Linked DNA regions of Homo sapiens: region 1 is linked to region 2. Evidence: promoter capture Hi-C in human tissues and cell types (Jung and others, 2019). All regions are on one chromosome and are shown on one strand. Each heading gives the region's core, a stretch centred on a gene start or on the middle of the fragment in contact. The rest is flanking DNA. Distances are from core to core; before and after follow the strand shown. Region 1 holds the start of ATP2B4 (ATPase plasma membrane Ca2+ transporting 4). Region 2 holds the start of PPFIA4 (PPFI scaffold protein A4).

The links. Contacts are between HindIII fragments. The study calls those that stand out against the background at their distance.
Region 1: the fragment with the promoter of ATP2B4 here is called in contact with the fragment with the promoter of PPFIA4 in region 2 in 2 of the 25 tissues and cell types used here (lymphoblastoid cells and thymus).

Annotation. Positions count from the first base shown.
Region 1 is chr1:203,625,345-203,628,716 of GRCh38, forward strand. ATP2B4 (ATPase plasma membrane Ca2+ transporting 4) reads left to right here and starts at 1,488. Exons shown (of 21, transcript NM_001684.5): 1 at 1,488-1,875. RefSeq lists enhancers at 482-1,356, 1,357-2,229. The HindIII fragment of the contact is 18,846 bases long and covers 971-3,372 here.
Region 2 is chr1:203,024,747-203,028,060 of GRCh38, forward strand. It overlaps PPFIA4 (PPFI scaffold protein A4), which reads left to right and starts at 1,745. Exons shown (of 30, transcript NM_001304331.2): 1 at 1,745-1,883. It overlaps TMEM183A (transmembrane protein 183A), which reads left to right. Exons shown (of 8, transcript NM_138391.6): 8 at 1-102. RefSeq lists a silencer at 1,535-1,844 and an enhancer at 1,671-2,192. The HindIII fragment of the contact is 14,289 bases long and covers 1-3,314 here.

The DNA.
Region 1 (3,372 bases), core at 238-2,737, 600 kb after region 2:
CATAAAGAAAAAAGAAATAGCAGGGTAAGAAAATGAAGAGGAAAAAGAGGACCCAAATGAGAGAACATTGGGAAGGGTGCTAGTTGGACACGGGGGAAACTGGACCCCGTTTCACAACCCTGTTTCTCCATGCACATGTGGCTCTGCTTCTTGGGGGCAGAGATGACAGCAAAGAAGGACAGGGGGTGGTGTGAGCTGTTGGGTTAGAATGATAGGATCAAAGAGGCCTTTTCCCAACCCTCTGTTTAAAAGGTTGGGAAGTAGTGGCCAGTCACCTTCTTCACAGCATAGCTCATAGCTATAACCTGTGAGACATATGTCAATGTGCCTTCCATAAGCATATAAACATGAGTGTGTTTGCTGAGGTAGGTGTGGGAATCTGTCAGTCAATGAAGATATGTTGTGTGAACCAGCTGATGGTGCATGTTTGTGCTTGAAAGCCATAAAGTTCTATGCAAAATCTATGGGTGGCACTGTTGCACAATGCTAGTGGGTGTGTGGGTATGGGGGTGTGATTAACTGTTTACAGGCTGTGTATAAGTGTGCATGGATGTCTGAGTGTGTGCAAATTAAAACGGAAATATGTGCCGGAGTATGATACAAAGTACAGGAAAGTACTCGGGCTTTGGAGTCTGTCTGACTTGGTCTTGAATCGTTGGCTCTGTCATTAGCCGGATGTATAACCTTGGGCCAGACACTCAATCTTCAATTCCCTCAACTAGGAAATGAGGTTAATAATAAGTACCTTTCAAGATTAAATGAGGACTAGAAACGATACCATATAGACAAAGCTTTTGGTGTCATAGCCCACGCATAGCAGGACTCAAAAGTAAGCAGCTATTTTCATGCACTGTCAGTATACCTCTGGTGGGTACAGGGACAAGAGGGAACAAAATGTGACCTGTATATAAGGTGTAGGGGAGGACGGGTGTGTGTGTGTGTGTGTGTGTGTGTGTGTGTGTGTGTGTGTGTGTGTTTACAAAACAATTTATTCTCCTTCTCCAAGGAACCCCCTATTCAGACAGGAGCAGGAAGGTAGGAGGGGACATACAAGTGTCCACAGACACCTCGGGTTTCTGGGTCCTGGATCTAAGTGAGTAAGGGGTTGAGAGGCCCGTAGGAGCTGCAGGAAGCCAGCCGCCTGCCCAAGCTTCCTTTTTTTTCCCCTCCGCCCAGCAACCGTTGAATACCGCCACCCACATCCACTCCCCACCTCCACCCTCACCCCTCCTCCACCCCTACTCAGCTTTCTATTCAACAAGTGAGAGCAAGGGCGGGGAAGAAAGCCGACAGGGGAGAGGATTGCTTCCCTTTCTTTTCCCATTCCCCCTTAAGACGAACCAGGAAGTAACCGCAAGAATCGGGCCACCTTAACAGTAGAGTAATGGTTTGGCCTCGCGCCAAGTCCCACCTCTGTTCCAGCTCCTGCTCCTCCCCTCTCTCTTCCCGCACTGCTTGGGGAGAGCTGGTGAGCAAGAGTCTGGCCCGAGTTAGCTAGAGCTGTTGCCATGACAAGCATTTTCTTAAGAAAGCTCTGCTGTTGAGATCGTCCAAAGCTGGGGGCTGGGAGGGGGGGCACGAACTTCGTGGGGCACCATCCCTCCGAAGAGAGCAAGATCAGAGACACCCGCCCAGCTCTCCTGCACCCTTTTTCTTTCAGGAACCTGAGAGGTCCTTCCCATTGGAGGGGCAGGGGGAGGAGACCCAGCCCACTCCCCGGCCTTAGCCAGAAAGGCAAGAGAGCAAAGCCAGCGTCTCTAGCTTGGTTGCCACACTGGGGAGACTGGTGGGTGGTCACCCCACCCTACCCTCATCCATGGAAACCCGGAGGGAGAGTCCCGCCTGAAGAAACCTGGATCTTTGCTAGAAAGAGAGGTAGGCTTGCAGAGAATGAATTGACTTGTGATTTGCAAACTTTGTTTCTTTCTTTTCTCTCAATGGCTTCTAAAACTCCCCGATTTTCCTCTTTCTAGAATATTTCATGCGACTGGGTTTGGAGGATTTTTTTTAAAATATGTGTGTGTGCACAGATTTGTCAAATACTGTTTTACCTATTATCAGTTCTGAGAAACCATATAGTCGAACAAGTGATTTATCTCTCTTTTCCTAGTTCTTGTCATTCCTGGGCTATGGGGTAGGGTAATGGAGGGTTCTCTTTTTGACACCAAAATTGAGCTCTTGGAAAAAATATTTATCTCCCCTCCCTCAACCCATTCCGTTCCTGCCCTCCCCTTCCCCCCTTGGCTTGGGAATGAGACGCAGGATGGAAAACTGTTGCAAAAATATTTTCCGTGTCTGTTCCCTTTCTCGAAAGCCCAAAAGAGAGATGGAAAAAAAAAAAAAAAAGGAACCAAAGAAATCTTCAGCAGAAAGAGGGGCTGCAGCGGGAACTAGGAGAGGGGCACTTTGGGGCCATGGGGTGGAGGTGGGCTGGGAGAAGTTGGCAGGAGTGGGGAAGGAGAGTGCACGAATTAAATTTCTTTAGCTTTGCAGAGAAACCTCAGCAGTTTCTCTGTGCTGCTTGCAAAACATCCTCAGACTTTCACATGTATAATTAGCTGTGGAAAAAGCTGGGAGTTACCTCGTACCGCTGTTGTTTGAGTGTGTGTGAGCGTCCAGAACCAACTGTATGAGTGTCTCCGAGGGCACCGCCCCACACATCTCTGGTCCCAAAGGGGAGGAAGGAGAAGGGTGAATTGAAAAGTTTCCGATGTCGAGGCTGGACACTGTGGGGCTGGTGAGTGTTTGGCAGATGGGGTGGGCCACAGGCATCTGTGGAAGGATCCCTGAGCGTCTCGGGCCACTGCCTTGGCTTGCTGAAGAGCTAGGAATTAAGACTGGGATTGTCCTTCCTGCTCTCCCTTCTCTCTTTCTTTTACATACTTGGCTCGCTCTTGGTAGAGGGGGCTGCTGGCATCCTTCCCCGAGTCGAGTCTGGCCTCTTACACTCCTCCACCTCCCTGAGGGTACCCGCCGCTCTTCTCCAACTGGGTGTGGAGGGTGCAGGAGTGGCCAGCCGCATCTTGGGAGGGGAGTGGGCACTCTGCTGCCAGAGGCACGTCCCTCCTGGGCATTCCTGCCGGACTTAACAATAACTTGCAGACGTGATGCCGGCGCCTGCTGGCCGGGCAGGGGGAATGTCAGATGAAGAAATAGGCCGGTACTCAACTGAGGCCCCTGTGGAGAGGGGAAAGGAGTGGGGGAGGGAAGGGAAACAAAATCCCATTCTGCAGCGCCCCCCTCCTCTGTGTGAGGAGTCTGGCAGGGAGTCTAGAGACCCTGGCCCTGCTCCTTAAGCCCCTCCCCAAGCTGCCCCTTCTCCACGCGCTTCCCATTGGAGGCCCTACTACGCCCCCTCCACTCTGAGCCCTC
Region 2 (3,314 bases), core at 495-2,994:
CTGAACTAAAGATGCCATGGAGCAGGAGTGTCTTGGTGCATTGTTCCCCGCTTAGGAGTACCTTTAAAAAGGGGGTGAAATAAATTTGGCTTAATAATTGTATTCTGACTCAGCTCTGAGTTTTTTGTGTCAAATTCCATGGTATGGTGACAGATACAGTACTAGATACTGCCTCAGCTCTCTCTCAGCATAATATTGACAAACATTTGGTAAAATGTGTTACCAGTCGTTATCTTGGCTTCAGCCTTCCTCTGCATTGGCTGAGTTGCCGTTTCTAGCATGATACATGCTTTATTAGTGACAGGATGTGAAGTGTCTCAGGGATTTCCTTTTGGTGAGGACCCCAGACCACCCGAAGAAGAATTAGAACTTTCTGGACTACAGGTTATATACTGTGATTTTGCTCTGTCAAGCAACATAAATTGATCCTTGAACGCTGTGAGAGTTATGGACACAGACCCTCACACAGTTGAAAATCTGCTATGACTTTTGACTGCCCGAAAACTTAATAGCCTACTGTTGACTGGAAGCCTTATTGATAACATAAACAGTTGATTAATGTGCATTTTGTATATGTAGTATATACCTTATTATAATAAGCTCGAGAAAAGAAAATGTTATTAAGAAAATCAAAGAAGAGAAAATACATTTACTGTTCATTAAGTGGGTCATCATGTTGAGCAGGCTGACGAGTAAGAAGAGGAGGGGTAGTCTTGCTGTCTCAGGGGTGGCGGGGAAGGAAGAAAATCTGCATGCAACTGGCCCTGTGCAGTTGAAGGCCCTGTTGTTCAAGGGTCACAGATTTAGCTTCACTTACCCACCCCTCAGATCAGAATTACTCAAGATTTCCCTGTCTTCAAAGAGACGCAAGGAAATTATGCCAAATGGTGAATATATTGGGTGGAAGATAAATGAGAGAAGGTTGTATGTGTCACTGATCTCAACTATAGCATTTGCTGCTGATATAGAACATGCTGTGTATATATCTATAAATACACACACATGAACACATTGCATGTATATAAAAATTGTTCACACTTTTAGTGGTGCTTACTGGGTATTGGTAAAGGATTGAGTAGGCACTGTGATGAAACTTCACAAAGCAGATGGAAAAGATGCATTAATAGCCACAGGGGGCAGGGTAAGGGAGCAATTCAGGAAAATGGAGAGGCTTAGCTAAAATTTGTCAGTCAGGAATTTTGGCATTTGAGACTTGTTTTCATACTATGTATATGTAATAGACAAACCCTTCATTTTGTAGTAACAGTGTTAGAACAGCCAGGTGCCTGAAGGCAAGCGACACAATTCACTGAAGAGCATACTACAGATGTAGTATCCGGATATCAAGTTTCCCCACTTAAAAAATGGGTGCGATCAAAGGAAAAGCAAGGAACGGGCAGGAGAGCAAGCGTGAAAGGTGACAAACTTGACAATTACAAGGCCGAGACTAAGGCCAATTTAGGGAACGGGCTGTTAGACTAGGAACAAGGGCGAGTTCAGAGGGAGGGGCAGAATGTGGGCAGCACTCCTGGGCCCTGAGACCCTTCTGCGGAATAAAACTCTGGCACTTCGCCACCTCCTAGGCTGAACCAAGATGGCGCGCGGCCTCAAAGCGGCGCTCTCGTCACGTGCCCGGACCCGAGGCGCTTGGGGGCGGGAGGCGTGGCCTCGGTCGCGGCAGCCCAGCCCCGCCTAGGGGGCGGAGCCGGGGGGGGTTGTCCGCGGAGGAAGGGGGCGGGGCCCCGCGGCCGCGCGCTTGGGCGGCGGAGGCTGCAGCTACCTCGGCGCCGGCTCGGCTCTAGGACGTGTCGGGCTGCACGGGTCGGGGGCGGCTCCCTGCTGCTTCCGAGCCTAGCCGCCTGGCCTTCGGCATTTGCAGGCAGGTGAGCGCCCAGAGCCTGGACTGGGGTAGGATGCGTCTTTTCCCCATCTCCAGCTCCCCTCGACAGTTTGGGGAGGGGTCTCGTCTATCGCACCTCGGGAAACAGCCCTTTTTGACTCCGTATGTGCTACCTCCGGCAGGCGTCGGTACTGCTTACCCTGCCGCCCCTCGCCCTCCTTTGCGGTGCCCTGTGCCCTTGGGGGTGAGGATAGGGGCGATGCCTGATCTGCGGGGAGGGCGTGGAGTGCGCCCTCTGCTCCATCGGCTTCAGGGGAGGGGGCCGAGTTGGCGAGTCTCCCGGTGGGAACGGAGCAGACTGCGCCCCCATTTCCCCTCCAGGAGAGTCAGAAAAAGCGCCTCTCGGCTCCGGGGCCAACCCCACTCCTTTGGGGACGCGATTCTGATGGGCTGAGGTCTTCGCTCTTCGCGGGGGTCTTAATCTTTCCCGAGTTGCTCATAGCACCCCTGTTCCTGTCGCTAGCTCTCCATTCCTCGAACTGCCAGCCTCAGTCTGTGCCAGAGATGCCCCCATCTCCGCAGTGCCAGGGCGGTGGGGTGGAAGGAGCGGCCAACCCGAGGCCTGGTGGGGGTGGGGACAGGGGTGGGCGCAACAGGAAAAGAGGGCTGGAATAGAGATGCCTGAACTGGGAGGGTGGGAGTGGGGCGCTGACTTACGTCCACGCAGTAGGGATGTTTTCCAGCGCAGATTTTGAGGTTTTGATGGTGGGTGGGAAGAGAGAGGTCGGGCTGGAGGACTTGGAGACATGGTGTAGGTGGTTTTCTTCGAGAAGGAGGAGGGATCCAGGACAAGGTGCCACTAGGAGCTGATGTCACCTTTGAGGAGAGGTGTGCTGGTAGTTTCCATCAGAGGAGCAGGAGAGTTGGGGCCGTTCTGTGTGGAGAGCAAGTGGTTAAGGAGGCGCTGCTTCGCAGGGAGATCCCCTCCTGGTGTGAGCTTAAGGGTCCCCTCCAGGAGCCAGGTTTCAGGGATTTCCCATAGTCCTTTCCAGAGTTCTTGGATCTGGTACCTAGTACTTTGCTCAACATCCAGCAAACATTTGTTGGACACCTACTATCTGCCAGATACTATGCTCGGTGCTAGGTCTTCTGAAGGCAATTTACAGCCACGGAGTAGCTGAAAGGTACACATAGGAGGCACACATAGCAGGTATTCTGTTAACACCCTTCTCACCGCCCATCCCCATTCTGTTACATTGCTGTTGGATTAGAAAAAGAAAGAACTGTGTCCACGTGCTTTCAAACAGCTGTCTGAATTAGACTCCAACCTACACACCCCCTACCACTATTAACTGGCCAGGTAGTCCCAGGGAAGCTGCCTAAGCAAAAGGGCAGCTTGAATGATTTCCCTTGGTTATTTTCTCAGATTTTGTCCTGAGGCTTGAGGAGGCTTCGTGGGGTAAACGGTATCTCA